7 separate regions of the Homo sapiens genome follow, and regions 2, 3, 4, 5, 6 and 7 are each linked to region 1. The links are contacts of gene promoters, found by promoter capture Hi-C in human tissues and cell types (Jung and others, 2019). All regions are on one chromosome and are shown on one strand. Each heading gives the region's core, a stretch centred on a gene start or on the middle of the fragment in contact. The rest is flanking DNA. Distances are from core to core; before and after follow the strand shown.

The links. Contacts are between HindIII fragments. The study calls those that stand out against the background at their distance.
Region 2: a contact is called between the fragment with the promoter of EIF6 here and the fragment with the promoter of RBM39 in region 1, in 1 of the 25 tissues and cell types used here (dorsolateral prefrontal cortex).
Region 3: a contact is called between a fragment that was not itself captured here and the fragment with the promoter of RBM39 in region 1, in 1 of the 25 tissues and cell types used here (dorsolateral prefrontal cortex).
Region 4: a contact is called between a fragment that was not itself captured here and the fragment with the promoter of RBM39 in region 1, in 1 of the 25 tissues and cell types used here (dorsolateral prefrontal cortex).
Region 5: a fragment that was not itself captured here is called in contact with the fragment with the promoter of RBM39 in region 1 in 1 of the 25 tissues and cell types used here (dorsolateral prefrontal cortex).
Region 6: a contact is called between a fragment that was not itself captured here and the fragment with the promoter of RBM39 in region 1, in 1 of the 25 tissues and cell types used here (neural progenitor cells).
Region 7: a contact is called between a fragment that was not itself captured here and the fragment with the promoter of RBM39 in region 1, in 1 of the 25 tissues and cell types used here (dorsolateral prefrontal cortex).

The regions. Positions count from the first base shown.
Region 1 is chr20:35,740,635-35,743,714 of GRCh38, forward strand. RBM39 (RNA binding motif protein 39) reads right to left here and starts at 1,626. Exons shown (of 17, transcript NM_184234.3): 1 at 1,307-1,626; 2 at 190-253. The coding sequence starts at 240. RefSeq lists a silencer at 1,006-1,105 and enhancers at 1,366-1,515, 1,529-2,214, 1,576-1,795, 1,966-2,065. The HindIII fragment of the contact is 31,582 bases long and covers 1-3,080 here.
Region 2 is chr20:35,282,942-35,286,021 of GRCh38, forward strand. It overlaps EIF6 (eukaryotic translation initiation factor 6), which reads right to left and starts at 1,831. Exons shown (of 7, transcript NM_002212.4): 1 at 1,785-1,831; 2 at 1,440-1,551; 3 at 1,235-1,320. The coding sequence starts at 1,546. It overlaps FAM83C (family with sequence similarity 83 member C), which reads right to left. Exons shown (of 4, transcript NM_178468.6): 4 at 2,790-3,080. FAM83C-AS1 (FAM83C antisense RNA 1) reads left to right here and starts at 2,310. Exons shown (of 2, transcript NR_109815.1): 1 at 2,310-2,374; 2 at 2,529-2,831. RefSeq lists a silencer at 1,561-1,750 and an enhancer at 1,843-2,393. The HindIII fragment of the contact is 18,620 bases long and covers 1-3,080 here.
Region 3 is chr20:35,319,820-35,322,899 of GRCh38, forward strand. All of the region lies in intron 7 of UQCC1 (ubiquinol-cytochrome c reductase complex assembly factor 1), which reads right to left. Among named protein-coding and RNA genes, the nearest start is that of FAM83C, 29 kb to the left of the region's middle. The HindIII fragment of the contact is 3,522 bases long and covers 1-3,080 here.
Region 4 is chr20:36,141,100-36,144,179 of GRCh38, forward strand. It overlaps a transcript of EPB41L1 not described here. Among named protein-coding and RNA genes, the nearest start is that of EPB41L1, 12 kb to the right of the region's middle. RefSeq lists a silencer at 2,116-2,165. The HindIII fragment of the contact is 4,923 bases long and covers 1-3,080 here.
Region 5 is chr20:36,085,717-36,088,796 of GRCh38, forward strand. No RefSeq gene overlaps it. Among named protein-coding and RNA genes, the nearest start is that of NORAD, 36 kb to the left of the region's middle. The HindIII fragment of the contact is 7,451 bases long and covers 1-3,080 here.
Region 6 is chr20:36,060,133-36,063,212 of GRCh38, forward strand. No RefSeq gene overlaps it. Among named protein-coding and RNA genes, the nearest start is that of NORAD, 11 kb to the left of the region's middle. The HindIII fragment of the contact is 8,994 bases long and covers 1-3,080 here.
Region 7 is chr20:35,447,742-35,450,821 of GRCh38, forward strand. It overlaps a transcript of GDF5 not described here. Among named protein-coding and RNA genes, the nearest start is that of MIR1289-1, 4.8 kb to the right of the region's middle. The HindIII fragment of the contact is 8,774 bases long and covers 1-3,080 here.

The DNA.
Region 1 (3,080 bases), core at 376-2,875:
TGAAGTGAAACTACTGCACAATATTATTACATCAATAGCATATATTTACTTTTGTAAGTTACACGTAATGCATCTCTGATAAGATAAATCAAGAGGGCTCCGGGGAGGTTAGTTTACATTTCAGCAGTAGTTTCGTGAATAATGCTAAATTAAGAAATATATAAACCTCACCGACATGTTTTTTCTCACCTTCTTGTAAGGAGCCTCAAGCATTGCTTCAATATCAATATCGTCTGCCATTTTCTCTAAACGCCTAGGAAGAGAACAAGACAATTTCTTGAGTAAACATTTCTCTTACAATGTGAAACAAGTTTCACTCTTGTTGCCTATATCGTCTAACATTTTCTCTAAACGCCTAGGAAAAGAACAAGACGATTCCGTGAGTAAACATTTTTCTTTTTTTTTTTTTTTTTTTTTGAGACGGAGTTTCGCTCTAGTTGCCCAGGCTGAAGTGCAGTAGCGCGATCTCGGCTCACTGCAAGCTCCGCCTCCCAGGTTCCAGCGATCCTACCACCTCACCTCCCGAATAGCTGGGATCACAGGCGCCTGCCACCACGCCCGGCTAATTTTTGTATTTTTGGTAGAGACGGGGTTTCACCATGTTGATGAGGTTGGTCTCGAACTCCTAACCTCAAGTGATCCGCCTGCCTCTGCCTCCCAAACTGCTGGGATTACAGGCGTGAGCCACCGCGCCCGGCCTGGTAAACGTTTTTCAAATCGACTGAATTTTTCTTCTCAGCCGACACACTCGAAAACTTAAGAAAAACCTCCAAAAGCCCTACAATTAATGACTAAAGTGACATGCACTTTAACCAGGTTTGGCTTACGTAAGTAAATCCAAAACGCCTCTTACACGAAACACACGAAAATGAAGACTTCAATATCCAATATTTAAAACTCTGCTGTCAACTCCAAAAACAGAAACTGGGAGACCCGAACGAGAGCGCCTCTTTCCGGGCAAAAACCCGCGCTGCCATTTTAGGGGCAAAGAGAAACTCCCTCCATTGGGAGGGGTTATGAGCCAAGGCAGCGTTCAACTGGCGCCATGTTGGGAGGTCGCGGCCGGCCCAGGCCTCGAAGGAGACAGGTCACCATTCTACCGCGGCCTCTCGGGGGTCCCTACCGCCCCAAGAATCCAGACTATACCCGACTGGAAAATAAGGGCGCGGTCACTGAAACAGGGCCGATTTCTCGAAAACCACCCCCCACCCCGGTCGCTAAAGACCTCCAAAAGCGCCCCTCAGCCCAAAATGGAGCCAAACCTCGAGAAAGCTGAGATAATACGCGGGTCCGCAACGCCCCGTACCTGTTCCGGCCTTCGGGCGCCTGTGGTGCTCGTGTTCGGGAAGAGATTGCTGCTGCTGCTGCTGCTGCTGCCGCCGCCGCCGCTTCTGTTGCTACTGTTAAGCCCCTAGGCCCAGGCCGCGGAACCGCCCAGCCCGAATATCGGGTTCCAAGGACGGCTAGGCCCGAGAGAATCTAAAAAAAACAATGGAATTAGAGAAGCCCACGCGGGAGAGCAGGACGGCGGCTTCGGCAGCTCAGGATCCACCCCTGCGACAGCGTCGACAAGCTCCCTGAAATGGCGGCCGCTGCTTCCCTGTACTCACATTCACCAGCACACATACACACACACAAACACACGGGGCCTCACAGAGCCCTCAGCACGGGCTCTCGCGAGAAGCTGCCCCAAGCTCCAAATTTGAGCGGCCGAAGTATCGCGAGACCTAAGTATGGCTCCGGCGACCGTAGCCCAATCTCGCGCAATGATTGCGCCACAGATATTCCCATCCCCCATTCAGTGAGGCGCCTTTCACTCCCCCTCCGCGTAAGCACCCAAATCTCGCGAGACAGAGCGGGTCTCTAGGGCAAAGACAGTTGGTAGGCTGCCTGTCAATCTTTCAGAGAGCTCTTCGCTGAGTGGAGCTCAGCGGTCACCTCCCCCTCGTGGCGCCTCCTCACGGCCATCTGAAGATTCCTCCGGCACAGCCGATCGCCCCCGCTCCGGCCTCCCACACAGATGGCTGTCAAGGTCGCCATAAGGCAACCTAGTCCTTATGGCGATAGGATAAAACGGCCATATTCAGATTATCCGCTGAGGGTGGAGAGGAAGTGGAAAAGTGTATCAGAAGGCCAGAAGAAGAGATCTTTAGGGGTAGGGGGAGAGGGGGAGATAATAAAAATAGATTTCCCTGTCATTTGGAGCCAATGGCGCGGCCTCCACTGTCGAGCTTTGAAACAACCTTGGAAATAGTGGAGAAAAGCAAAAAAAAGGTGGAAAAAATAAACTCTTGCTTCCCTTGGCATGGGATCAGTTTTGTGCCCCGAATTTAATCAGCTCTTGTGTCAGGGTTGCTACCGTTCCTTCAAAAATGTTCCCCTTCCTGAATATTACTGGACGATTTGGTGAAAAAATAAGACACCCCCCCAACAAAAAAAAAAAGGCCCCCTTCCCCCTGGGACCTGGCTCCTCTCCCCTGAAGTCTTCTAGATGCCAGGTAATTAGAGTATGAATTAGCCATTTGTTCTTTGGTCAGTACTGTGTGAGGTTTCCTCCTAGATGCTGGGAAAAAAAACTGGAAAGAAGTCTTCAAAGCAAAAATCTTACCCTCTAATCTTAACAGTCTAATGATTGAGGGCAGAAAAGATTGGAAATGAGACGCCTTGATTAGTGTAACTAGCTGCTGCAACACTGTGTGACCTTGGACAAGCAAATTAACCTCTCAGAGGGGATCTTTCATTTCCTGATTTAAAAGAGGACGTACTTAGTAGCTAGTCTAAGCTACTTGAGACTGAGGAAGGCAGGTAATGCTCAGTACTGAATTTTTAGAGGTTAGCAGGGCATGTCTGCCCAAGTGGACCCTCAGTAAATTAATGAATGAAGGCTCAGAAGGGCTATAGTGAAGATTAAATGATATAATGTCTGTAAAACGCCTGGTAAATATTTGATCTTCAAAACAGCTAACTTCTGTTTCTGCTAAACAAAATTATTTAGAGCAAATATAGATGTTAAGTGGTTTTGCCTCTCAGGTTAACTTTACACACAGGTTAGGATTTATCTTAGAGGATTATTAATAACA
Region 2 (3,080 bases), core at 581-3,080, 460 kb before region 1:
TCAATGAGCAGAACTAAGAAACAATGGGCAGCAGTAATGGAAGACAGATCCAGCTTAATGAAAGGACCGGCCGGGCGCAGTGGCTCACGCCTGTAATCCCAGCACTTTGGGAGGCCGAGGTGGGAGGATCACCTGAGGTCAGGAGTTCAAGACCAGCCTGGCCAACATGGTGAAACTCCATCTCTACTAAAAATACAAAAAAATTAGCCGGGTGTGGCGGGATGCGCCTGTAATCCCAGCTACTTGGGAGGCTGAGGCAGGAGAATCACTTGAAGAGAGTGTTGCAGTGAGCCAAGATCGTGCCATTGCACTCCAGCCTGGGCAACAAGAGCGAAAACTCCATCTCAAAAAAAAATAATAATAATAATAAAAAGGAAAGGACCAACGACCAGAATTAACAGTGCTGACAGGTAGGAAGGTAGGGTAGAGATGTGGTAAAGGGAATTTAAGATTCCAACGTAACTGAGCAGGAAGACCGCATATCTTAGCTAATCTTTACAGAGACAGAAATGGATGCTTAGAAAGAGAAAGCACCTTGCCCAGTCAGTGGCAGGGAGAGATGAGATACAAATCCTCGGCTGGGTATAGTGGCTCTCGCCTATAATCCCAACACTTTAAGAGACCAAGGTAAGAAGATCACTTGAGCCCAGGAGATCAAGGCCAGGCTGGGCAACACAGGGAGGCCGCGTCTCTACCAAAAATGTAAAAATTAGCCAGGTGTGGTGGCACGTGCCTGTGGCCCTAGCTACCTGGTAGGCTGAGGTGGGAGGATCACTTGAGCCTAAGAAGTTGAGGATGCAGACAGCTGTGATCTTGCCACTGCACTCCAGCCTGGGCGAAAGAGCAAAAATCTGGCCTCAAAAAAAAAAAAAAAAGAGAAAAATCCTTCTCCAACACTAGGAACTAGGTGTGGAACTTACTGAGTCACTTAGGTCAAGTCTCAACTTCCTCATCAGTCAAGTTAGGCCAGTAACTCCTACCTTCTAGTGTCTTTGTGACGAAGGAATGAGAACAGGAGTGAAAGCACTTTACATTATTTGTTATTACTATTATCCAGCAGCCTTTGCTAGAGGGTTGCCCCGATCTCCTGACGCTTGGCCTGAGAGATTCTATAGTGCCCAGAGATAACAGATGATACCCTGGGAATCCCTAGGTCACTCCGGGTTCCCTCCGGGGGTGTAATTAATGGTGCTTGGAGACCACTCCCTCCCTCGGCGTCCTCCACCTGCCTTACCCACACACATGCGCCCGATGATGCGGCAGCCGGCGATAGACGCGTGCACCACGGGGATGGTATCGGAGAGCTCGCCCTCGAACACACTGTAGGGACATGGACTCGGTGGTGGCGGGGCAGAGGGGCCGGCACCCTCCCACTGCCGGAGCTCTTGACTCCTGCGCACGCCTCCCCGCCACCGTAAGCCCCGGGGCTCCCGCCGCACCTGTAGAAGTTCTCTGAGCCTCCGATCGCTACCAGACAGTAGGTGTTGGTGAGCTTGGCAAAGCAGCCGATCTCACAGTTGTTCTCGAACGAAGCTCGGACCGCCATGAGGCCTAGGGGCGGCGGAGGCGGGAGTTCAAGGCCGGCGGATCCTTTCCCAAGTATCCCGGCCTCCGTCCCTCAGGCCCCGCCGCGACCCCGCCCCTCTCGGCCTCCCGGCCCCTCCGTCCTCGGGTCCCGCCCACTGGGCCCCCACCAGAACCTCCGGCCCTGAATCCTCTGGCCCCCACCCCTCCCGACCCAGGACCGGAGCTGACCCTCCCAGGTTCCCCTCACACCAGCTTACCAAGTAACCAGTAACAAGCTCCGCACGCGGCGACTGTACCTTGGACTCCCTAAAAAGGTTTCCGTTTCCACTTCCGTCCAGGGAGACTTCCGGGAGAGCCCGGCGCTCCCCGCCACGCATCCAGCCCCTCTACCTCCGGCCTCCGGCGGACTCTATGGTCGCGAGCGGTCTGGGCGCGACCCCGCCTGGCCCCACGCCTAGCCTGCTCGCGTTCATTCATTCATTATTCATTCAGGAGCTTTTTAGGAGCTGTCATCGACCTAGACCTCCGGCTGGTCGGTTGTGAGGCATGAGGGAGAGGAGGGGCCAGGAGTGTCTCGCGGAAGGGTTGATGATGGAGGTATTGATGGAAATGAAGCCGGAGGAAGGGCAGGTTTGGGGAAAGGGATGAGTCCAGCTGTGCCTTGAGGGACAGAAGTCCATGTCTGGAGCCCAGCAGGGGAGTGGAGTGCTGACGAATGAGATGAGGGGCTGAAGACGGGTGGACTAGAAGAGGCTACCCATGGAGAGAGTTCCAGGAGGCAGAAGTGCGGCCAGACCGAGGCTGGAGAAAGAGCGCAGCCAGAGACGGAAAGGCAGCCAGGCTGCAGGTGCTGGAGAGAGGGGAGGACTGAGGAAGCAGGGGCTCAGGAAAAGGCTGGAAAGGGGTCCAGGGTGGGCAAGGATGTGGGTGCTGGTTGGCTTCCACGATGTGCCTCTCGCACGGCCTCTATCACTCACTCAGCAGCCAACTTCTGTCCCCAGGATAGTGATGGGGGCCAAGGGCCCTGCTGCACACTTGGACAGGATGAACTTGGCCCACATTTTGTAGAATCTGCAAAAGCCCCGGGTTCTCTCAAAATGTCACAGTGGTAACTTGGAGCCCCTGGACTCCCCCAATTCCTCCTTCGGCATTCACCCTCCTCCAGGGGTTTCCCCATAATTGGCCTGAATGGTGCCCTTCCCATTCCCCCAACGTGTCCCTCCCATAACTCCTCAAAGTTCAGGATACACCAGGCGCTGTGATTCACAATAAAGTCTGCCTTTATTGATGTGTATCATGTTTACTATCCCGGGTAAGTGGTGAGTTCAGGAAAATGGCCCACAACCTGTCACAGCCTGTACTTCAAGAGACACTCAGCAAGATGATGACGACGACAATGATGATGATGATGATGATGACTCAGCAAGATGATGACGACGACAATGATGATGATGATAATGATGATGTGTGTGTGTGTGTGTTTCCGGGTATCCACATACTCTGCTCTTCCTCACTCATTCACCTCAGACCCACTCAGTCCTCTTTAGGGCATC
Region 3 (3,080 bases), core at 181-2,680, 420 kb before region 1:
TGAGGCCAATTCGCTGCTCTCTTTCCCCTTTTCACTGTTGCTGCCTTAAAGATATTTATGTGACTGCTTAACAGAGGAACCAGACTATGTGGATACAGGGACTGATGGGAGATCAAGTTTTAACTCCTCCATGGACTCTACAAGGCTTCTAGTGATCTGCTCTTGGCCATCTTTTTTGCCTCCCCTCCTCTTGCCTCCCCATCTTACTTCACCCTGCAGTCAGTAAAGTATGTGCACAGATACATCATGCTGTCATCTATTTCTTAGTCATACTGCTGCCAGGAATTCTTCTCTTCTTTATCCACTGATGGAAGGGATGCTAACTCCTTATCCTCTAAGACTTAGCACACATATTTTCTCTACTAAGTCTGCCCTCTCCCCCATCTACAGGTGCCCCAAAGTGATTCAAGTCTGGAGACGGGTCCCATCATTCATTATTTACCAAGTGCCAATAACTGTGCTACAACTTTACACATTAGCCCACTTAAACCTTCCCAAGGACTCTAAGAGACAGGAACTGTTACTGTCTCCACTTTAGAGAAGAGGAATCTGATGTTTGGGAAAGTTAAAGCTAGACAGCTAGGAAATAGTGGGGTCAAGATAAGAATACAGAGCAATCCAACTCCATTGCCTACCTGTGTTGGAATAGACACTGGAAGGAATGTAGCTGCCCCTTCCTGTGCCCCACAGCTCAGGCTATCTGCAGAGGCAGAACTAAGAAATGCTAATGTGGTCTTGAGTAAACACAACTCAGAGATTCCAGTTCCAGTGGCAGCTAGAGACAGCCACCAGATGGGTCATCAGTGGCCGGTTACTAATACATCAGATATCCCTAGTAGAGCCAAGCTCCACTCCTGGGAAAACCTGAGGTTGAGAGTGGGTGTAATTATGGTGGGGGAATGGGAAAACAGAAGAAAGTTGGTATGGAAAACACTGATGAGCATGAAGGTGAGAATAAGCTTTAAGGTTACTGGCTTGAAGCAAAGTTGCTAACAGTAGCAGACTAAGAATTTGCTGGAATGAATGAATGACAAAGGACAGCTAGAGTTGCTGGCTGAAGCCTAAGGACTATATCAAATTCATCATAAGGCAACAATGCAACACAAGATTGTAGGTCATGTTTTAGTTTGCTGTAGTAGACAGTAATGCCACCACCAATGCTTTGCAGTGCCAACGCCATGTTCTACAGTCATTGTGCGGCAACAGGCTGATGTGCACTGAACATCAGCTAGCCTATTTAAAGTTCAGGTTAGAAATTAGCCCACTGTGGAATATTTTGTGAGATACTTAGAAACAGAGTAAGAGTAGACAGACAAGAGAGACGGGGGACATGGAGAGACCAAATAAAAAAGTCTACCTGTTAACTCACATGCATTACGACTGAAAGATCTATTGAGGGTCTTTTAGCAATGATGACAAAATACAAACAAAACTGTGTGTGTGTGTGTGTGTGTGTGTGTGTGTGCGCGCGCGCGCGCGCACGCTCAGGCACGCATGCATATTGAGCAGTTCCAGAAAAAGTTGTTAATACCAAGAATAAAAAGAAAAATATTTTAAATGAAAGACAATTTCTTTTTCTCTTTTTAGAAAATAATGTGAACATTTAAATAGAGTATGTTCCCGTTGCGATGAAAGGCCAACCTAAACCCAGCATGAGGAGGTCCATTTTAAAATCCATTTTAAACATTTCAAACTTTTAATGTACAAGGGAAGCTTGCTATGATGACATGCTGTTTAAAAATATTCCCTTATTGGCTGGGCAAGGTGGCTTACGTGTATAATCCCCATGCTTTGTGAGGCCAAGGCAGGTGGATCACTTGAGGCCAGGAGTTCAAGACTAGCCTGGACAAAAAAGTGAGGTCCTGTCTCTACAACATAGTAATAATAATACAAACCCCTTTCTTATTTATTTTGAAAATTCTAGTTTTGCTGCTTGGGATCTACATGTTCAAGACTGCATAGCCTGATAATGTGCTGAAAAACAAGGGACATGGTTGGCAGACAGAATTGCAGAACCAGCAGCCCTAATTTCTATATAGTCACGAAGTACAGGAGTCCTTCCCTCAGGCTTGGAAAATAGCCAAGAGAGAAGAGATGTATGTCCTCAGAAATTCTAGTCATTTGTCCAGTTGAGAAAACATGAGAACACATAATATTAAGTCCACAATCATCTTCAAAAGGAGCTGATGAGGTACACTACGGTTCTGGGATGATCAAACTACCATGGCAATTTAACTTTCGTCTCTTTTAGGGCATTTGAATAAGGGGAACATTATAGCTATAATCTACTTTGGTTTCTGGAAGCTTTTTGTAGTATTCCACATGACAAGTCTCATGCATACTCATTAGAGAAGCCAACACCTGGCTTGAAAGAGTCGCAGTTTCAACAACAGCACTGATGGTGCGGAGTCCTAAAGGAAATAATCCTGGGTACTATCTAAAATCCGTACTGATAATAATGATGACAGTGATGGTCGTAACAATGATTACACAATGCATTTAATAATATTTTCATTTTATTATCTTATTTGTGCCTCACAACCACAACCCTGCCCTCGAGGAGCTCACAGCCAAAATGCTATTGTTGTCCTGATTCTATAAACAAGGAAACAGAAGCTCAAAACTGTTAAGTGGCCAGGTGCGGTGGCTCACGCCTGTAATCTCAGCACTCTGGGAGGCTGAGGTGGGCCGATAACCTGAGGTCGGGAGTTCGAGACCAGCCTGGCCAACATAGTGAAACCCCATGTCTACTAAAATACAAAAAATTAGCTGGGCATAGTGGCGCATACCTGTAGTCCCAGCTACTCAGGAGGCTGAGGCGGGGGAACCATTGAACCCGAGAGGCAGAAGTTGCAGTGAGCCAAGATTGTGCCACTGCACTCCAGCCTGGCAACTGAGCAAGACTCTGTCTCAAAAAACAAAAACAAAAACAAAAACAAAAACGTTAAGTCACTTGTAGTCAAATCACATCCTGCTTGTAAGTGACAGTGCTGGGACTTTTAACTCAGATGGTCAGTCTCTAAATCTACTGTCTTTTCTTTTTTTTGAGACGGAGTCTTGCTCTGTCACCCAGGCTGGAG
Region 4 (3,080 bases), core at 299-2,798, 400 kb after region 1:
TAGACTGTGGGCTCAGGATTACGTGTTCATTTCTTCCATTTACCTCCTTATCTGTCAATATCAGACCTGCATGTGAATCCTGATTCACTCTATGACCTTTGGCAAGTGTTGTGCTGCTGTACTTGCTGGCCCTCAGTTTTCTCACCAATGGGAGGGCTAAGTGAAACATGTATAATAAAGTGCTCTGTAAAAAGGAAGACAAAGTAGAAATGTGAAGGTTCACTACGACTGTCATCTTTATTATTTTTTTTTTCTTTTACTGTCAGATGAGGGAATGGGACTCTGTTAGGTTTCTATGCATGAATAGGGAGCCCTGGAGGGTACTTCCGCTGTGAGGGCCTGTGTCAGGAGACTGTGGGAATTGGCTAGATGGGCCCCATTAGTGAAACTCCAGGGAACAACTGAAGAGGGCAGCAAAGTTCAAAGCCAGAGAGGCAGCCCAAGGGGGGCTGTGGTTGCTGAAAGGTGGGGGCTCTAGTGAGATTCTAGGAGGGACCTTCAATGGTTCAGGCCAGAAGCTTTGAGAGAGGTGAAGGTAACAGACCTTTCTTATATAAATATGTTTACACATATATACCAGAAAGTAAGCAACAAAACAAGACCCAAATGTACACAAAAGAAATAATTCCACTATCATAAAACAACGTCTGGTAACATGTTTTAAAATATTTCCTGTTTGCTTTTTTCTAGGCATGTACACATACATACATATTTTATAGAAATTGGGGCCAGGCACGGTGGCTCACGCCTATAATCCCAGCACTTTGGGAGGCTGACGTGGACAGATCACTTGAGGTCAGGAGTTCGAGACCAGCCTGGCCAACATGGTGAAACCCTGTCTCTTCTAAAAATACAAAAATTAACCAGGCGTGGTGGCGGGGCACCTGTAATCCCAATTACTCGGGAGGCTGAGGTGGGAGAATTGCTTGAACCCAGGAGGCGGAGGTTGCAGTGAGCCGAGATCATGCCACTGCACTTCAGCCTGGGCAATAGAGCAAAAACTCCATCTCAAAAAAAAAAAAAAAGAAAAGAAAAAAGAACAAAAAACGTATTTTGTAGAAATTGGATCATTTGTTACGTACCATTTTGTCTCTGCTTTTTTACCTGTATTGTGTTAAGAACATGATTATATAGCCACATATAGATCCACAACATTATTTTGTGTGGCTGCGTAGTATTTCAGCATATGTATGTATCACTATTTTTATAACGTAGCCACTATTATTGGACATATATATTAACTCCAATGCTCTACTTTACTCCTGTATACAGTGCTTAGACAAATGTTCTTATAGCCACATCTTTGTGTCATTCATTGTTCCCTAAGGATCCATTCCTAAAAAAGGAATTTCTGCGTTAAACGGTATGCACACTTTTAAGGCTTATCATGTACTTTTTCAACGATGAAAGATGAAACCAGTTGATAGCTGCATTGACACTGTCTGAATCTGCCCAATTTATTGGCGGCTCATTATCTTAATAACCCGGCAGCGGTAGCTTAGTGGGTGGGAGGCTCACTTGCACGGATTGGGCGGAGGGAGGCATCAATAGCCACTCTAAAAGGACTTTGCAAAGAGAGGCCCCTGGGTGGCCTGATGGGGCTGGGTTGGACTGTGTTGAAGGGGCTTACCTGCCCGGGCTGTGCTGTGCTGTGCTGTGTTGGCCCGACTGTATTGGTTATGGGAGGCTGTGCTGGGCAGTTGGGCTGGGTTGGCTGCACTGGCTCAGGCCTGGCAGTCTTGTCCCTGGTGTGATCCTGGGCTCAGCCTGGTGTGATCAGCGTAGTCACCAATCCAAGACATTCATTCTAGAAGCTGGCATGGCCTCCGTGGCCATGCTGACAGACTTGTCCATTCACGTAGTGGAGAGTGATTCATCAGAGCTGGTGGTGGCAGCAGTAACTCTGACAGAGTGGAACTGCTCTCACCATCCTGTCACTTGGCCTCTAAAAATAACTCCTGCCGGTTCCGAGTGACCGCACCGCCAGGTGTCTGGAGGTGCAGTCCTGTGGTTGTGGCTATGTGAGGGAGGGTGTGTTTGTGTGTGTGTGTGTGTGTGTGTGTGTGTGTGTGTGTGTGTGTGTTGGGGATAGAGGTGCCATCTGGGGGCCTCTTGATTGGTTGACCTCTGAGCCAGGGCTTTGGGGTGGGAGTATGAGAGGCAGACCAGGCTCGCTCTTTTCTACCCTCTCATAGCTGGGGACAGAGACAGCTAGTGGGGGTAGCAGTATTTTTCAGGACTGTGTGCTCACTCCCTGCTGAAAAAGGGCAGAGAGAGTGGAATGGAGAGGGTGACTTCAGAGGCAATATGACAAGGGTGAGGCAGGCTCTGGGGAAGCACAGCATTTAGCCAATCAACATCTATGTCCCACAAAAGCCCACATAAAAGCTCATCGTCTTAGTGAAGTCTTTAATGTAGGGTTCCTTTAAATTAGATACAAAATACAAAATACACACATATACAGCTAATTTCTTATCGTGGCTGATTAGAGATCATCTAGCCCAAGTCTTAACCAAGGGGATTATCTATCTATCACTCAGGGGGTGATCTATGCATGGGCTTCATGAGCTCTCTTGATACCTGAAAGATGATAAAGGTAGGTATGTGTGTGTGTGAGTGTGACTTTGTGTGTGTGTATGTGTGTGCAGGTGCATACCCATGTACATTTTTCTAGGAGAAGCTCTGCAGTTTTCATTGCATTTTCAAAGGAAATCAGGACCGATAAAAGGTTTTCTTTTTCTTTTTCTTTTTTTTTCTTTTTTCTTTTTTTTGAGACAGTGTCTCGCTCTGTTGCCCAGGCTGGAGTGCAGTGGCGCGATTTTGGCTCACTGCAACCTCTGCCTCCCGGGTTCAAGTGATTCTCCTGCCTCAGCCTCCCAAGTAGCTGGGACTACAGGCGCACGCCACCATCCCTGGCTAATTTTTGTATTTTTAGTAGAGATGGGGTTTCACCATGTTGGCCAGGCTAGTCTCAAACTCCTGACCTCAGGTGATCTGCCCGCCTCGGCCTCCCAGAGTGTAAGAATTACAGGCGTCAGCCACTGCGCCCAGCCCCCTAAAAGGTTTAGAACTGCGCTAGT
Region 5 (3,080 bases), core at 240-2,739, 340 kb after region 1:
CTCTTATTTGTCATGTGTTCCCTCTGCTCTAAGGCCCTTGTACAGTGTTCCCAAATGTTTGCAGTATTTTGGGATGAAAGGAGTGAGGGGCACAAGCTGCAAGTGGACTGTGCTCCTGAGGATGAGAGCACTTTGCCTACTTTTCCACCCCTCTAAACTAAGCTTAGTATCTTGTGCTTGGGTGACTCTGACAGGTCAGCCCCGCATGACTCACTCTGTAAGCCTTCAGCGCGGGTCACCACAAGGTCCTGGTTTAGGGTGTGTGAGTTGGTGGGTGGGGAGGGGAGGTGGAAATTAACTTTCACCTTTCAGGAACCTTTCCCTTCCCCAGGAGAAGGACAAGTGTAAGTCCTTCCCTTAAGTAGTCTGGGCAAGTCTCTACTCATCACTCCTAGGAGGACTGGGGAGGTCCTGGAAGGTGCAGAGGAGGAAGCTCTGAGAAGTAGAAACAGCACCAAACTGCACCATAGAAGACTTTACTAATTTGTCCAAATGACAGAATTTACCTTCTCTGAGCTTCAGTTTCCCCAGCTATAAAGTGGCAACAACACTGATCTTGCCCTCCTCCCTAAGTTGCTACAAAAAGACATAGTAAAAATCTTTAGGGTGCCGGGCAGGGTGGCTCACGGCTGTAATCTCAGCACTTTGGGAGGCTGAGGCAGGCAGATCACCTGAGGTTAAGAGTTCGAGACCAGCCTGGCCAACATGGTGAAACCCCATCTCTACTAAAAATACAAAAATTAGCCAGGCATGGTGGCAGGCACCTGTAATCCCAGCTACTTGGGAGGCTGAGACATGAGAATCGCTTGAACCCGGGAGATGGAGGTTGCAGTGGGCAAAGATAGTGCTACTGCACTCCAGCCAGGGTGATGGAGCAAGACTCCATTTCAAAAAAAAAAAAAAAAAAAAATCTTTAAGAATGCAGCCTTGAAATCGCACAGACTTGTACTGGAATCCTTCTCATAAGCTATGTGACTGAGAAAGTTATAGATCTTCATAAGCCATTACAGCTACCTCCCAGGGTGAGAAAATTATGTAAATAAATTTCCTAACATATACTAAGTACTCAATAATGTTGGCTATTCCTATATGAGATGATGAAACTTATTATTATATAGGGAAAGTCCCAGACGAGGACCCATTTTTGAACATTGAAAGGAGGGAGTACAGAGGCTAACTTTTCTTAGAATTGGTTGCTTCTTTTAGCCAAGTATAAGGTGTGGCTCAAAGGAATGAGGAAGCAGTTAATGAGGTGACAGGGCACAGAATACTGTTTGTCTTCACAGATCTTGGGGGAGGGATACAGTGGTTAGCTGACCTTCCCAAAAGATCAGAGATCCTGGTGTCTTGTCCACCCACAGATGCAGGCCACTTGACTCTGTCCTGTCCCCTCCTACCAGTCCAGTCACCACGTTCTGGTGAGGCTGCCTTTGAAATAATAATAACAATGGTACTTGTACTAATGATATTATTACTTTGAAGTGTATGAAGGCTTTCTAATACATCATCCCAGTTATCCTTCATTATCTCTCTCCCATTCACAGAATCCAGAGTTAGGAAGGATATTGCAGATCATTCTGCATTTTACAGATGGGATCTCTGAAATTTGAATAAAGGAAGGGATCTACTCAAGGGCTGGGATTTACCTGAGACTACACAATAAGTTAATGGCAGGGGCAGGACTAGAACCTGCAGCTCCTGACTACCAGCCTAGTGCCAGTGCCTCTTTCAAGTCACACTTGCATTGGCTTTCCATTCCCATGGCCTCCCAGTCTATTCTTTTTTTTTGTTTTTTGTTTTGTTTTGTTTTGTTTTGAGACGAGTTTCGCTCTGTCGCCCAGGCTGGAGTGCAGTGGTGTGATCTCGGCTCACTGCAACCTCCGCCTCCCGGGTTCAAGCAATTCTCTGCCTCAGCCTCCCAAGTGGCTGGGATTACAGGCACCCACCACCATGCCTGGCTAATTTTTTTGTATTTTTAGTAGAGACAGGGTTTCACCATGTTTGCCAGGCTGGTCTTGAACTCCTGACCTTGTGATCCACCCTCCTCGGCCTCCCAAAGTGCTGGGATTACAGGCATGAATCACCGTGCCCAGCCCCAGTCTATTCTTTTATCTCCTGGACCACTGCAGTGGTTTCCTACTGGTCCTGCCTGCCTCTGATCCCTCCCCACCCATTTCTTCTACACATACAGTCACATAATTGTCTGGAAGCACAGCTTTGATCTTGTCTTTCCCTTCCTAATAGAACTTGCCCATTTTTTCAACTTGAGAGGTCACCAGGATCCTAGTTCAATTTCCCAATGAAGACTTAATCTTTCCTTGAATACATATATTGACAAGGAGTTCATCACTCCCAAGGTGGTCCATTCCATTCTTGGGTAGCTCCAACTGTTAGGGAGTTCTTTATAGTGAGCTGAAATTGTCTTCCTGGATATCCCCCCACTGGAGGTGATGTGATGGAATTCTCTTTTTTTTTTTTTTTTTTTTGAGACCGAGTCTCACTGTGTTGCCCAGGCTAGAGTGCAGTGGTACAATCTCAGCTCACTGCAACCTCCGCCTCCCAGGTTCAGCAATTCTCATGTCTCAGCCTCCCGAGTAGCTGGGACTTACAGGCATGAGCCACCAAGCCTGGCTAATTTTTTTGTGTTGTTAGTAGAGACAGGGTTTCACCATGCTGGCCAGGTTGGTCTCAAACTCCTGGCCTCAGGTGATCTGCCTGCCTCGGCCTCCCAAAGTGCTGGGATTACAGGTGTGAGCCATCACACTTGGCCCCTTTTTGTTTTTTTTTTTTTTTAGACAGAGTTTCACTCTTGCTGCCTAGGCTGGAGCGCAGTGGTGTGATCTTGGCTCACTGCAACCTCCACCTCCCAGATTCAAGACATTCAGCCTCCCAAATAGTTGGGATTACAGGCATGTGCCACCACGCCCAGCTAATTTTGTATTTTAGTAGAGACGGGGTTTCACCATGTTGGCGAGGCTGGTCTCGAACTCCTGACCTCAGGTGATCCACCTGCTCGACCTTCCAAAGTGTTGGGATTACAGGCGTGAGCCACAGCACCTGGCCAATGGAATTCTTTCGTA
Region 6 (3,080 bases), core at 322-2,821, 320 kb after region 1:
CTACTAAAAATACAAAATTAGCCAGGCGTGGTGGCGCATGCCTGTAGTCCCAGCTACTTGGGAAGGCTGAGGCAGGAGAATCTCTTAAACCTGGGAGGCGGAGGTTGTGGTGACCCAGTGTTGTGCCATTGTACTCCAGCCTGGGCAACAAAGTGAAACTCTGTCTCAATAAATAAATAAATAAATAAATAAATAAATAAATAAATAAGGGAGAAGAGACAAATGATCCTTAAAGAAGAATTCTAGATAATGTAGGTAGATACAACCCCTTCAGGTTGTGGAGCTTAATTCTCCCATTGAGTGTGGGCTGCACTTAGTAACTTGCTTCCAAAGAGTGGAAAGGGAGGAAAAACAAGCAACTTCCCAGGGGAGAAACTGGACAGACACTCGCTTGGCCAGGTAATCAAGTCATGTCGCTAACATGTATCCTGATGAAGTCATGTCAATAACATGTACCTATGATTTGATGAGAAGAGCAGTTTACCTCTATGACATGTTTCCCCAAACTCATAACCCCAGTCTAACTATGAGAAAAGCATCAGATGAACCCAAATTGAGGGGCACTCTGTAAAATACCTGTCCAGTACTCCTCAAAGCTGTCAAGGTCTTAAAAACCAAGAAATGCCTGAGTAATTGTTACAAGCCAGAAGAAACTAAAGGGACATGATGACTAAATGTAGTGTGGTGTCCTAGAAGGGACTCTGGAGCAGAAAACAGGTGGAATTTAGTTCATAGGAATGTACCAGTGTTGGTTTCTTAGTTGTGACAAATGCCATAGTAATGTAAGGTGGTAATAATAGGGGAAGCAGGGTGAGGGCTATACAGGAACTCTCTGTACTCTTGAGTATGATGGTTAAGTTCATGTGTCAACATGGAGGGTGGTTTTGGATGATATTAGCATTTAAATGGTTGAACTTGGGTGTGGGCGGGCCTCATTTGATCAGTTGAAGGCCTGAATAAAACAGAAAGACTGGCCTCCCTAAGCAAGATGGAATTCTCCGGCAGGCTGCCTTCAAACTGCACCATTGGCTCTCCTGGGTCATCAGCCTGCAGGCCCACACTGTGGGATTCGGGCTTGCCAGCCTTCATAATTAGGTAAGCCAATTCTTTATGATAAATCTCTTTTATGCACACACACACCGTATTGGTTCTCTTTCTCTGGTGAGCCCTAACACAATGGGAAATTTCTGTACTCTAAATCAAAGACTTACATTTATTTTCTGTAAATGTAAAATTATTTTAAAATAATAAGTTTATTTTAAAAAGAGAGAAGGCTGGGTGCGGTGGCTCATGCCTATAATCCCAGTACTTTGGGAGGCCGAGGTGGGTGGATCACCTGAGGTTGGGAGTTTGAGACCAGCCTGGCTAACATGGTGAAACCCCATCTGTACTAAAAATACAAAAATTAGCCAGGCGTGGTGGCGCATGCCTGTAATCCCAGCTACTTGGAAGGCTGAGGCATGAGAATTACTTGAATCCATGAGGCAGAGGTTGCAGTGAGCCGAGATCACGCCACTGCACTCCAGCCTGTGCAACAGAGCGAGACTCTGTCTCAAAATAAATAAATAAATAATAAAAAGAGAAAAAAAGAGGCATGAATTTTGAAGTCATGTAGATCCATTTATTTGTTTCCTGTGGGTGCCAAAACAAATTACTACAAGCCTGGTAGCTTAAAACAACAGAAATTTATTCTCTCATAGTTCTGGAGGCCATAAATTGAACATGAGTTTCACTGAGCTGAAGTCAATGTGTTGGCAAGGCTGTATTCCCTCCAGATGCTCTGGGGAAGAATCCGTCTGCCTCTTCCAACTTCTGGTGGCTGCCAACAATCCTTGGCTTGTGGCCACATCAGTCTCTGCCTCCATGGTCACATTGCTTCCTCTTCTTCTGTGTGTGTTGGTCTAATCTTCCTTTCCCTCTCTCTTATAAGGATATGTGTGATGGAATTTAGGGCCCACTTGGCTAATCCTCAATGATATCCTCATCTCAACATTCTTAATCACATCTGCAAAAATTATTTTCTCAAATAAAGTAATGTTTACAGTAGTTTCCAGAGATTAGGACTTGATATATTTGGGTGGCCATTATTCAGCCTACTACACCCTGGCTGTGTGAAATGTAGGACTTTTGTAGTATGAGTAAGCCGGCTCTATACTTAAAAATAAAAACTATGACATAACCTGGTTTTAAAAAATGTTCATCTGGGTTCCACCTGAAATCATCGTATTATGACCACTAGTGAGGTAGGAGGCAGGACTCGAGTCTGGAGGTGGGGTTCAGACACTGGACCAAATTGAGGACTAGCTAAAGCAGGGATGGGGTAGAAGAAGCTTTCCATAAGACATGCCCACCAGTGTGCCATGCCAGTTTACCATTGCCATGGCAACACTCAGAGGTTACTGCCCTTTCCATGGTAGTGACCCAAGACCAAGAAGTTACCACCTTTTTCCTAGAAATTTCTGCATAATCTGCCCCTGAATTTGCATGTAAATAAAAGTGGGTATAAATATGACTGCAGAACTGCGTTTGAGCTGCTACTCTAGGCACACTGCCTATGGGGTAACCCTGCTCCACAAGAAGCAGTACGTCTGCTGCTGCCGAACACTGCCACTTCAATAAAAGTTACTATCTGACATCACTGACTTACCCTTGAATTCTTTCAAGTCAAGAACCCTCCTGGGCTAAGCCCCAATTGGGATCACCTGCCCTGCCTTGGTGGGACCCAAGCCACACTTTGCCAAACAGTGTAAGAGATTGGTCTTAGAGGTCAGAGAGTTCTACATTCTAACTCTGGCAAGCCTGTGACTTTGGTTAAGTCAACATATTCCTTGAAGACTATCTCTTCATCTGTACAAGAGGACACTAGCCCTGACTCAGAGGAATGCTGTCAGAACTCCTGCAGACTGTGAAACAGATGCACAACAAATGATCAGTCACATTCTCCTCCCCCTCCATTTTATAGTTTGTTACACTTCACAAAATATTTTCTACATACAATAATGTTTGATCCCCATAAAATGTGTGAGATAAAGCCAAACGTTTCCTTCTCAGATGGAGAAACTGAGACTTGATGTCAACTG
Region 7 (3,080 bases), core at 401-2,900, 290 kb before region 1:
TTCAGTCCTCCCCAGAAGCAACAACTCTGATCAGTCTCCTAGATGACTTTCCACACAATATAGTAACATCAGCTTTTTAAAAACTTTATTAGGCAGGGCACGGTGGCTCATGCCTGTAATCCCAGCACTTTGGGAGGCTGAGGCGGGAAAACTGCCTGAGCCCAGGAGTTGGAGATCAGTCTGAGCAACATGGCACAAGCCCGTCTCTATAAAATAAAAAAAAAATTTAAACACCTTTTTATCGATGCATGATATTCATACCAAATATATTTGATTATAAAATTAAATCATGTTCATTGTAAAAATATTCAAATAATACCAAAGTTTATAAAGTTAAAAGAGAAAGTTCCCCTCTCCCCTCACACCCCAATCTCTCTAATCACAGGAAACCTCTCTAATCACTGGAAACCTTGTTGTCATTCTTGAGCTCAGAAATCTCAGATCCTTGCTGGACTCCTCCACTCCTCCTTCCCTCCATCTAATTCTAATTCCCACTTTGTGTATAAGAACCCTAGCTGGTAAGTACTGTTATCCCCATATTGCAGCTGAGGAATTTGAGGCTCAGAAAGGGAAAGAGGGTTGCTCAAGAACATAAGGCAAGCTGGACGCGGTGGTGCACATCTGTAGTCCTGGCTACGGGACTTTTTGTTTTTTTCAAAAAAAAAAAAAAAAATATATATATATATATAGTTAAGGGCCCCCCCGACTTTTTTTTTTTTTTTTTTTTTGTCTCACTCTGTCACCCAGGCTGGAGTGCAGTGGAGCAATCTTGGCTCACTGTAACCTCCTCCTCACAGGTTCAAGCGATTCTTGTGCCTCAGCCTTCCGAGCAGCTGGGATCACAGGTGCACGACACCAGGCCCGGCTAATTTGTGTATTTTTAGTAGAGACAGGGTTTCGCCATGTTGGCCAGGCTGGTCTCAAACTTCTGGCTTCAAGCGATCCACTTGCCTCCACCTCCCAAAGTGCTGGGATTACAGGCATGAGCCATCAGGCCTGACCAAGGGCCCATTTTTGAGGAAGGAGAGGACCTGGTCCTGTGGGAACTGTGACTGGACATCCTTTATTGCCCAAGCCCTGAGTGATAGTGAAAAGATGTCATCCACTTCAAGAATCTCAAGCTTGGGTACGCTGGTCACTTCGAGCCTGACTTAGTGAGTGAGAGGGGGCTAGGACTGGAATAAGAACTGCCTACTGAGGCGGGGTCAGGACCAGGGAGAAAATATCCAGCTGACAAAGGGAATCCAACTAGGGAGATTGACACAATTCAACCAGATGGTGGCATCAGCAAGAGGAGTGTCCGGCATTCCTAACACATCCCATGCTCTAGCATGCTGCTGTGCCTTTGCACATGCTGCTTGGAATCCCCGCCACCACCCCACCCCTGCCACTTTGCTTAGCATTTTTTTTTGAGATGGGGTCTTGCTATGCTGCCCAGGCTGGTCTCAAACTCCTAAGCTCAAGAGGTTCTTCTGACTCAGCCTCTTGAGTGGGTGGGACTACAGCCACATGCCACCATGCCTGGCTTGTCTGCTTAGCATTTTTTTTTTTTGAGACAGGGTCTTGCTGTGTTGCCCAGGTTGGAGTGCAGTGGCTTGAACACAGCTCACTGCAGCCTCAACCTCCTGGGCTCAAGCGATCCTTCCTACCTCAGCCTCCAGAATAGTTGGGACTACAGTAGTGCACCACCACACCTGGCTAATTTTAGCGTTTTTATCCTTCACAAACAAGTCATAGTGGCCTGATGCTGTGTAGCCAGCTGCTCCCTCTTTATAGAATTTACTACACTGTGTGTGTGTGAACTATTTCTTTACTTGCTTGCCTGCCATGTGAGTTTGTGAACAGAGGCTCTGGACAGAGTTCATTTATTATTGTTCTTTGGGTCCCTCCCAGTGCATAACTCAACTTTTGGCACACAGTAGGTGCTCAATCAATATTTTAAAAATAATGAATGAATGGAACTTCAGCGCGGCAGCTCAAGCCTATAATCCCAGCACTTTGGGAGGCTAAAGTAGGAACATTGCTTGATGCCAGGAATTCAAGACCAACCTGGACAACACAGTGAGTCCCCATCTCTACAAAAAAATTTTTAAACAAATTAGCCAGGACTGGTGGCACAGGCCTATAGTCTTAGCTACTCGGGAGGCTGAGCCAGGAGGATCGCTTGAGCCCAGGAGATTGAAGCTGCAGTGAGCTATGATCAAATCACTGCACTCCAACCTGAGTGAAAGAGCAAAACCCTGTCTCTTAAAAAAAAAAAAAGAGAGAGAGAGAGAATGGGCCGGGCGTCGCGGCTCACGCCTGTAATCCCAGCACTTTGGGAAGCCGAGGTGGGCGGATCACTTGAGGTCAGGAATTCAAGACCAGCCTCGCTAACATGGTGAAACCCCATCTCTACTGAAAAAAAAAAAAAAAGCTGGGTGTGGTGGTGGTGGGCGCCTGTAATCCCAGCTTCTCAGGAGGCTGAGGCACGAGGATCACTTGAACCCAGGAGGCGGAGGTTGCAATGAGCCAAGATCGTGCCACTGCACTCCAGCCTGGGCTACAAAGTGAGACTCTGTAAAAAAAAAAAAAAAGAATGGACTCAGAGGAACAGCAGCAAGAGACTATCGTTTTGGTGCTCCAGACTGTTACCTTGCAGTGAGAAAGAAAGAGGAAAGTGGTTGACTTTTTTTCCCTCTATTTTTCCCTCTCTGTCATCCTCAGCTCACTTTAGTCACTCAACATGTCTCCATGTTAACATGGAGAGGAAGATGGGGGTGGGAAAAGTCTTCTTTGAACCAGTGTAATAGCTGGCTTAGTGCTTTCTGGGCCTCGCAGATGTTTATAGCCATCTCTATCCATCATCAAAGCATCATGGGGTGCTTTTATACACTCTTCAGGGGTTCCCTACTGGCCCCTCTCCTGCAGTTCCCTTAGCAAAGGCATCTATTAATGGCCATTTGTCTAGCTTCTTGTTCCTGGGGTCCCTTTATACCTCCAGGAAGCCCTACTGAACAGGACCTAATAGTCAGCAGGCTTGTCTCTTCTTGCTAGAGTTCACAGGCAGGAAGCATATCCTGGTCACGATACTCCCTAAG